Linked DNA regions of Homo sapiens: region 1 is linked to region 2. The links are contacts of gene promoters, found by promoter capture Hi-C in blood cells and fetal thymus (Javierre and others, 2016). All regions are on one chromosome and are shown on one strand. The core of a region is centred on a gene start or on the middle of the fragment in contact, and the rest is flanking DNA. Distances in the headings are between cores, read along the strand shown.

The links. Contacts are between HindIII fragments. The CHiCAGO score rates a contact against its expected background, and 5 or more counts as called.
Region 1: a contact is called between a fragment that was not itself captured here and the fragment with the promoter of NNAT in region 2, in 1 of 17 cell types (naive CD8 T cells). The highest score is 6.4, in naive CD8 T cells.

The regions. Positions count from the first base shown.
Region 1 is chr20:37,298,746-37,302,139 of GRCh38, forward strand. MANBAL (mannosidase beta like) reads left to right here. Exons shown (of 3, transcript NM_001003897.2): 2 at 2,463-2,668. The coding sequence starts at 2,519. Among named protein-coding and RNA genes, the nearest start is that of MANBAL, 11 kb to the left of the region's middle. The HindIII fragment of the contact is 5,291 bases long and covers 1-3,394 here.
Region 2 is chr20:37,519,696-37,523,315 of GRCh38, forward strand. It overlaps NNAT (neuronatin), which reads left to right and starts at 1,555. Exons shown (of 3, transcript NM_005386.4): 1 at 1,555-1,708; 2 at 2,663-2,743; 3 at 2,972-3,620. The coding sequence starts at 1,637. The coding sequence ends at 3,064. The region is part of intron 1 of BLCAP (BLCAP apoptosis inducing factor); the gene reads right to left. RefSeq lists an enhancer at 1-627. The HindIII fragment of the contact is 15,256 bases long and covers 1,114-3,620 here.

The DNA of each region.
Region 1 (3,394 bases), core at 70-2,569, 220 kb before region 2:
TTTTTTTTTTTAAACAGGATCTCTCACCCCGTCACTCAGGGTGGCGCAATCACGACTCATTGGCTCACTGCAGCCTAGACCTCCCAGCTGGAGCAATTCTCCTGCCTCAGCCTTCTGAGTAGCTGGGACTACAGGTGTGTACCACCATGTCCGGCTAATTTTTAAATTTTTTATAGCAACAGGGTCCCACTCTGTTGCCCAGGCTGGTTTCAAACTCCTGGGTTCAAGTGATGCTTCTGCCTTGGCCTGTCAAAGTGTTGGGCTTACACTTTGGGCGTAACCCACCATGCCCAGCCAATTATTTTTTACGTGTATTTTTTGGTGGCAGGGTGGGGTGGGGGCAGGGTCGGGTGGGGGCAGGGTCTCGCTCTGTCACCCAGGCTGGAGTGCAGTGGCGTGATCGTGGCTCACTGCCTTAAGCTCCTGGGCTCAAGTGATCCTCCCACCTCAGCCTCTCGAGTAGCTGGGAATACAGGAGTGAGCCACCACTCCTGCCTAATTTATTATTTTTTTTGTAGAGATGGGGTCTCGCTGTGTTGTCCAGGCTGGTCTCAAACTCCTGAGCTCAAGTGATCTGCCCACCGTGGCCTCCCAAAGTGCTGAGATTATAGGCGTGAGCCACTGCAATCGTTTCAGCATGTAATCAATATGAAAACATTATGAATGAGATAGATTACATTCTTATTTTCATACTAGGTCTTTGAAAATGGGTGTGTAATTAGCATCTCAATTCAAACTAGCTGCGTTTCAAGTCTTAATAGTCATGTGTGGCTCATGGCCACCATATTGGATAGCTCAGACTTAGCAAAATATTGCATTGTGGCACAGATCTCTGGAAACACAAAGGGTTTTAGATTCAAGTGGGCCTGGTTCCAAAGTAAATTTGCCCCTTTATCATTGGGATGGGCAGAAGAAAGCCACTGATGGGTGCTGTGGTAAAGGGGGAGCAGTTCAGTCATGCCAGGGGAAGAGGAGGGTGACAGGAGAGGCATGTTGGGGAGATGACACTTGAGCTCAGCCTTAGAGGCAGAGTGGGGGCTTTGTCAAGCAGTCACAGTGGGAAAGGACATTCTTTGCAGAGTATGCAGCTTGGGCAGAGGCCCAGGATTTTGAAAGAGCCCAGTGCTCTTGGAGAACCACAGCAGTTCTTTCAGCTTGACTAGGATATTAGGAGTGGGGGCCCTGCTGAGAGGAGAGGCTGGAGAGCTGGGCTGAGGCTGGACCTTGCACCACTGGCCACCACTGCCCCTGTCATTCACGCCATCAGCAGCTCTTGTCTGGCTTATTGGCAGGGGCCTCCTCCTGGCTCTCCCTGTGTCCACTTTGCCTCTCCCCTTGTTGTCCCTCCTCCATTTAAAAATGGAAGTCAGATCATGTCACTTTTCTGCTCAAAACCCTTCAGTGGCTTTACATTTTACTCAATCAAATTGGAGGTATCAGGGTCCGCCCCCACTCCTCTCTGATCATACCTCCTTCCACCCTCCCTCCTGATCACTTCTCTGCCTGTACTGGCCTCATTTCCCCACCCTGGGGCCTCCACACTTGCTTTTTTCCCTGCCTGGAACGTGTTTCCCTCAGATACACAAATGGCTCCCTCTCTCACTTCTTATCTCTTCCACTCCATTCCCGTCTCTGTTCTTCAGAGAGAGCCTTCTCATCACAAAATAAAATGATGCCCTTAAGTTTTTTCCAAAATGCTTATCACTACCTGGCATATCACATCTCGACGTGTTCATTGTCTGCTTCCATCCTGAGCATGTAGAGGCTCCAAGAAAGCAGGGGTTTGTCTGTTTTGCTCATTCTTCAGTGCTTGGTATTCAAGAAATATTTGTTGAATGGATGACTACATGAATAAATAAACAACAAAACCTGAAACGTAGCAGCCTTTAGTAAATGTATGTTGATTTGAGATTTTTGTTGAAGTGCTTCCCTTTGCATTTATTTATTTTTCTCAACTTTATGTTTGGAAAACATCAGATACACAGAAAAGTTGAAAGAATGGTTCATTGACTGACCATATGTTCCCAACTTAGATTCAAGAGTTGTTAACATTTCACAATTCCTGTATATATTCTTGGGTGTGTGTGTGTGTGTTCAAGTTAAAAGTCAGTTACAGGCTGGGTGAGGTGGCTCACACCTGCAATCCCAGCACTTTGGGAGGCTGAGGCGGGCAGATCACCTGAGGTCAGGAGTTCAAGACCAGCGTGGCCAACGTGGTGAAACCCTGTCTCTACTAAAAATACAAAAATCATCCAGGTGTGTTGGCCCACACCTGTAATCCCAGCTACTCGGGAGGCCAAGGCAAGAGAATCACTTGAACCCAGGAGGCCGAAGTTGCAGTGATCATGCCATTGCACTCCAGCCTGGGCGACAGAGTGAGACTCCATCTCATAAATAAATAAATAAATAAATAAATAAATGTCAGTTACAGAAATATGACACTGACCCTTTGCATTTACAAGTTGGTTCTAAAGAGTGGTGAGTCAGAAGAGACGTCAGGCAGCAAGCGACTTGGGCCATGGCCTCTGACCTAGACTTCTCACCTCCGGAGGTGCCCGAGCCCACTTTCCTGGAGAACCTGCTACGGTACGGACTCTTCCTGGGAGCCATCTTCCAGCTCATCTGTGTGCTGGCCATCATCGTACCCATTCCCAAGTCCCACGAGGCGGTGAGTTTTTCCCTGGGAGCCTCAGCTCCTCTGAGTGCCAGGCTGGGTTCTGAGTACTAACAGTAGGTGCCACCACAACTGAGATCAGCAGGGTCTACATTGGGCCTTTTTGATTTAGTGTGCCTCTGAATTTCCACCTGGTGGGTTGAACCACATAGCTAATACTTTATTTGTTCATGTACCCATTAAGGAGATTTTTATTTAGTGCCTACTACATTTCAGACTCTGCTGAAGATGTAGTGTCTGCACCTGAGGAGCATCTAGTCCTTGGGAGGAAGGCAGATAACAAAAACATACCTCCATGTGCTCCCATGAGAAGTACAGAGTCCAGTGAGGCTATATAACAAGGGGGAGAGAGACCTGATCTTACCCTGGGCTGTGGGCCCTGCCGAGGAGGCAGTGTTTGAGCTGAGACTGAAGGAATGAGCAGGCTTCTGCCAGGTGAAAGTGGGCAAGGGGCGAGGACAACATTCCAGGGAGAGGGCACTGCACGTGCAAGGGACTCAATAAAGGAAGGGGCTAATTCAAGGAACTGAATGAAGGTGACTGTGGCCAGAGCACAGAGGGGGCATGATGAGTGGTGCAGCCAGAGGTGTGGGCAGGGGCCAGAGGGTTTTAAGTGTGAGAATGACATGGTCAAATTGGCTTTTTTGTTGTTGTTTTGACTCTTCTTCTGTAAGTATCTTTATAACTATACACCCTCCTTCTACCCACTTTCTTGCCCAC
Region 2 (3,620 bases), core at 305-2,804:
CAGCCCGTCCTCAAGGGGCCCAGACCTCACAATACCGCCCAGTGGTTGCCAAAGGACGACCAAGGGCTCCCTGCTGTGCCCCCACGTGGTAAGGACAGGGTTCTGTATCTAGCATCTCTCACAGCCATAGGTGCTCAGGCACTAAGTGCAGAGTTAAAGCTGTTAGCGGGGCACTGCCGGCCACCAGACCACAGGCAAAGGATCCTGAGGCAGCTACAGCCTCGAAATATTTTAAGATGGCAGCCTAGGCTAAGCTTGCCTTTTTCAAACAGCCCAGCGTCACTTTGCCAGAATCTGCCAACTTCTCCGAAAGTCAATGTAGAAAAAAAGTCACTATGCTACTTTGTCCAAACTGAACTCGTTTGGATCATTACACCTCCATCTGCTGCTGGCACTGTATAGAACCTGACCTCTGGGAGCTTTTAATGAAAATTAATTTTCTATCCACATAGGGGCAAATGCCAGTTGGTCCCTGGGCCAGGCAGCTTGCTGGAAAGAGGTGCTTTCGGCTGGCTACCGGTGCGCGGGGACCACACTCACAAACCGCATTCCGGTCTTCCCGCCCGAAAATCCGCGCTGTGCGAGGGACCCACAAGACTGGCGGTCTAAAAGGGACCCGCCTCACTTGGAAACGGGGCTGCGGTAGCCACAACCCTCCGGTAGCGGTAGCGTAACCCCGTTCGGTGATCCAGCCGCACAGCGCAACGGGTACAAAGAACCCCACTGGCTAAGGCCGACCTACCAGGGCTTGGGGGAGGGGAGCGGAAGACTGAGGTCGAAACGACCTGTCCAGCAGAAAACTATCCCCAAGCATATTCCAACCACTTCTCCGTAGAGCTCATTCCTTCCGTGCATACGAAGGGCGCCAATCCTTCCTGTATCCCTCCTACAGATACCGGGTGACTACTGCTTTTGCGCCCAAAGCGCAGTGCTCTGGCTCAGCTCCCTACAGTAGCGACCTCCACCGCAGATTCTCATCTCCTCGCTACCGTAAGAGAGATGTAAAGAATCAGACGGGTTACGCGCTCAGGCACCCTCATGAAGCAGAGGACCTGGGCTTAAAACTCATTCAGTATCAGGAAAAGAGCGCCGAGCACGGGCCTATTATGCCAAAGCTTCTGAAAGGGGCACCACGTTTTTTGCTCTATGGGGCAGATGACCCCTCCCTAATTTCGGTTTTCCATCCATCCCCAAGGTAGGCTTTGGAGTGGCACCGGAGACTGAGCTCAAATTTGCAGGCCAGGGACTGGGGAGAAGGGCGCCACACTAAGAGACCTGCACCCCCATTCTCGCCCTGTACTCTACCCAGAGTCGTGGTACCCCTCCATTTTAAAGCAAAATCCAAAAGCAAGCACGGCGGAATCTTCTGGAAGGGGGCTAAGATGGAACTCAGGAGGCGGGGGTCGGTATGGAAAGAGCAGATGGATTATTTTTTTCCTCTCCTGGCGAATGAGGAGCGCCCCCAGCCACCCCTCCTCATAAACACCCCCCAAGGCGCGCATGCGCACTTAGGTGGCGGGCGGGTACTTAAGGCGCGGCCACCGCGGCTGCGGCAGTGCGCCCAACAGCGGACTCCGAGACCAGCGGATCTCGGCAAACCCTCTTTCTCGACCACCCACCTACCATTCTTGGAACCATGGCGGCAGTGGCGGCGGCCTCGGCTGAACTGCTCATCATCGGCTGGTACATCTTCCGCGTGCTGCTGCAGGTAAGTCTGACGGGGTTTCGGGTGGGAGAGGGTTCCCAACTCGCGCCCCTAGAACCCGCAAGACTGCGTCGCGATTGCCGCTTCCCGGACCCGTCCTATTCCGATTGCCGCGATCCTTGCCTGCCCAAGTGCCGCTGCCGGCACCGCGCGCCCCCTGCCCATTCCCTGCGCCGTCCTCCTCGCGCTGACCCTCCCTAGTGCGCCCGCGCCTGCCAGGGAACAAAGACTCGGGGCGCGGCGGGCGACCGCTGCGGACGATCACCCAGGCATTTAGCGACCTACGCGGTAAGAAAAACCCGCTACACCCGGACTCGACCCCAGGAGGGAGGCGGGGCACTACTGTGTTGAAAGACTTTACAGCTCGCAGAGTGAAAATTTTCCACCTTAAAAAATTGCGCATTGCGGAGAAATTTTATTTAAAAAAACATATAGCGCTTGCGGGGGTGGAACAAAAAATAAGTTAGAAAAAGGCACTTCTCAGAAAAAATAAAAATTACTTCGCAAAAAAAAAAAACCCTACAACGAATTAGAGAAAAAGTAGTTCACAGGAAAACAGAAAAACGCGCATTGCAGGAAAAATAAATCGGAGAAAAGCACTTGGCAGAAAAAAATGCATTAGATTAAAAACGCACTGCAGAAAAAAATTAGACAAGGGAGCTAACGGAAAAAAATGGATCGGGCAAAAACGCTTTAAAGAAAAAAATTAGAGGAAAAAGCCCCTCGAGAGAAAAATAGAAGGGGAAAAAAAGCACTTCCAAAAAAGGACAATTGCTTTACAAAAAAAAAAATAATAATAAAAAAAATAAAAAAGAGGCAAAAGCGCTTGGTGTAAAAAGAGATAAATCAGAAGAAAGCGCTTTGCCCATAAAATCATTTACCCTAAAAGCTCCCTTTGCAGGAAGAATTCCCTGCTAAAGGAATCCTTTGCCAAAGGAATCGCATATTTCCTTCAAGGTGTTCCTGGAATGCTGCATTTACTGGGTAGGATTCGCTTTTCGAAATCCTCCAGGGACACAGCCCATTGCGAGAAGTGAGGTATACCTAAGTTGTGGGTCCAATCAGCTTGCCGCCATGCAGCTCTCAGCACAGTTGGAAAAGCTCCAGCTGCCCTGACTCGTGGACAAGCTGCGCCCGCGCCCGCCTCTCCAGCCTACGCTGGATGGGCGGGCGGGGCAGGGGGTGGGGCGGGGGTGGGCACGGCAGCACCACAGACATGCTGTGGGTGCTCTCCACTAAGGGTGGGTCCTGGGTTTCTCGTCGCAGGTGTTCAGGTACTCCCTGCAGAAGCTGGCATACACGGTGTCGCGGACCGGGCGGCAGGTGTTGGGGGAGCGCAGGCAGCGAGCCCCCAACTGAGGCCCCAGCTCCCAGCCCTGGGCGGCCGTATCATCAGGTGCTCCTGTGCATCTCGGCCAGCACGGGAGCCAGTGCCGCGCAGGAATGTGGGGTCCCCTGTGTTCCCTCGCCAGAGGAGCACTTGGCAAGGTCAGTGAGGGGCCAGTAGACCCCCGGAGAAGCAGTACCGACAATGACGAAGATACCAGATCCCTTCCCAACCCCTTTGCACCGGTCCCACTAAGGGGCAGGGTCGAGAGAGGAGGGGGGATAGGGGGAGCAGACCCCTGAGATCTGGGCATAGGCACCGCATTCTGATCTGGACAAAGTCGGGACAGCACCATCCCAGCCCCGAAGCCAGGGCCATGCCAGCAGGCCCCACCATGGAAATCAAAACACCGCACCAGCCAGCAGAATGGACATTCTGACATCGCCAGCCGACGCCCTGAATCTTGGTGCAGCACCAACCGCGTGCCTGTGTGGCGGGACTGGAGGGCACAGTTGAGGAAGGAGGGTGGTTAAGAAATACAGTGGGGCCCTCTCGCTGTCCCTTGCCCAGGGCACTTGCATTCCAGCC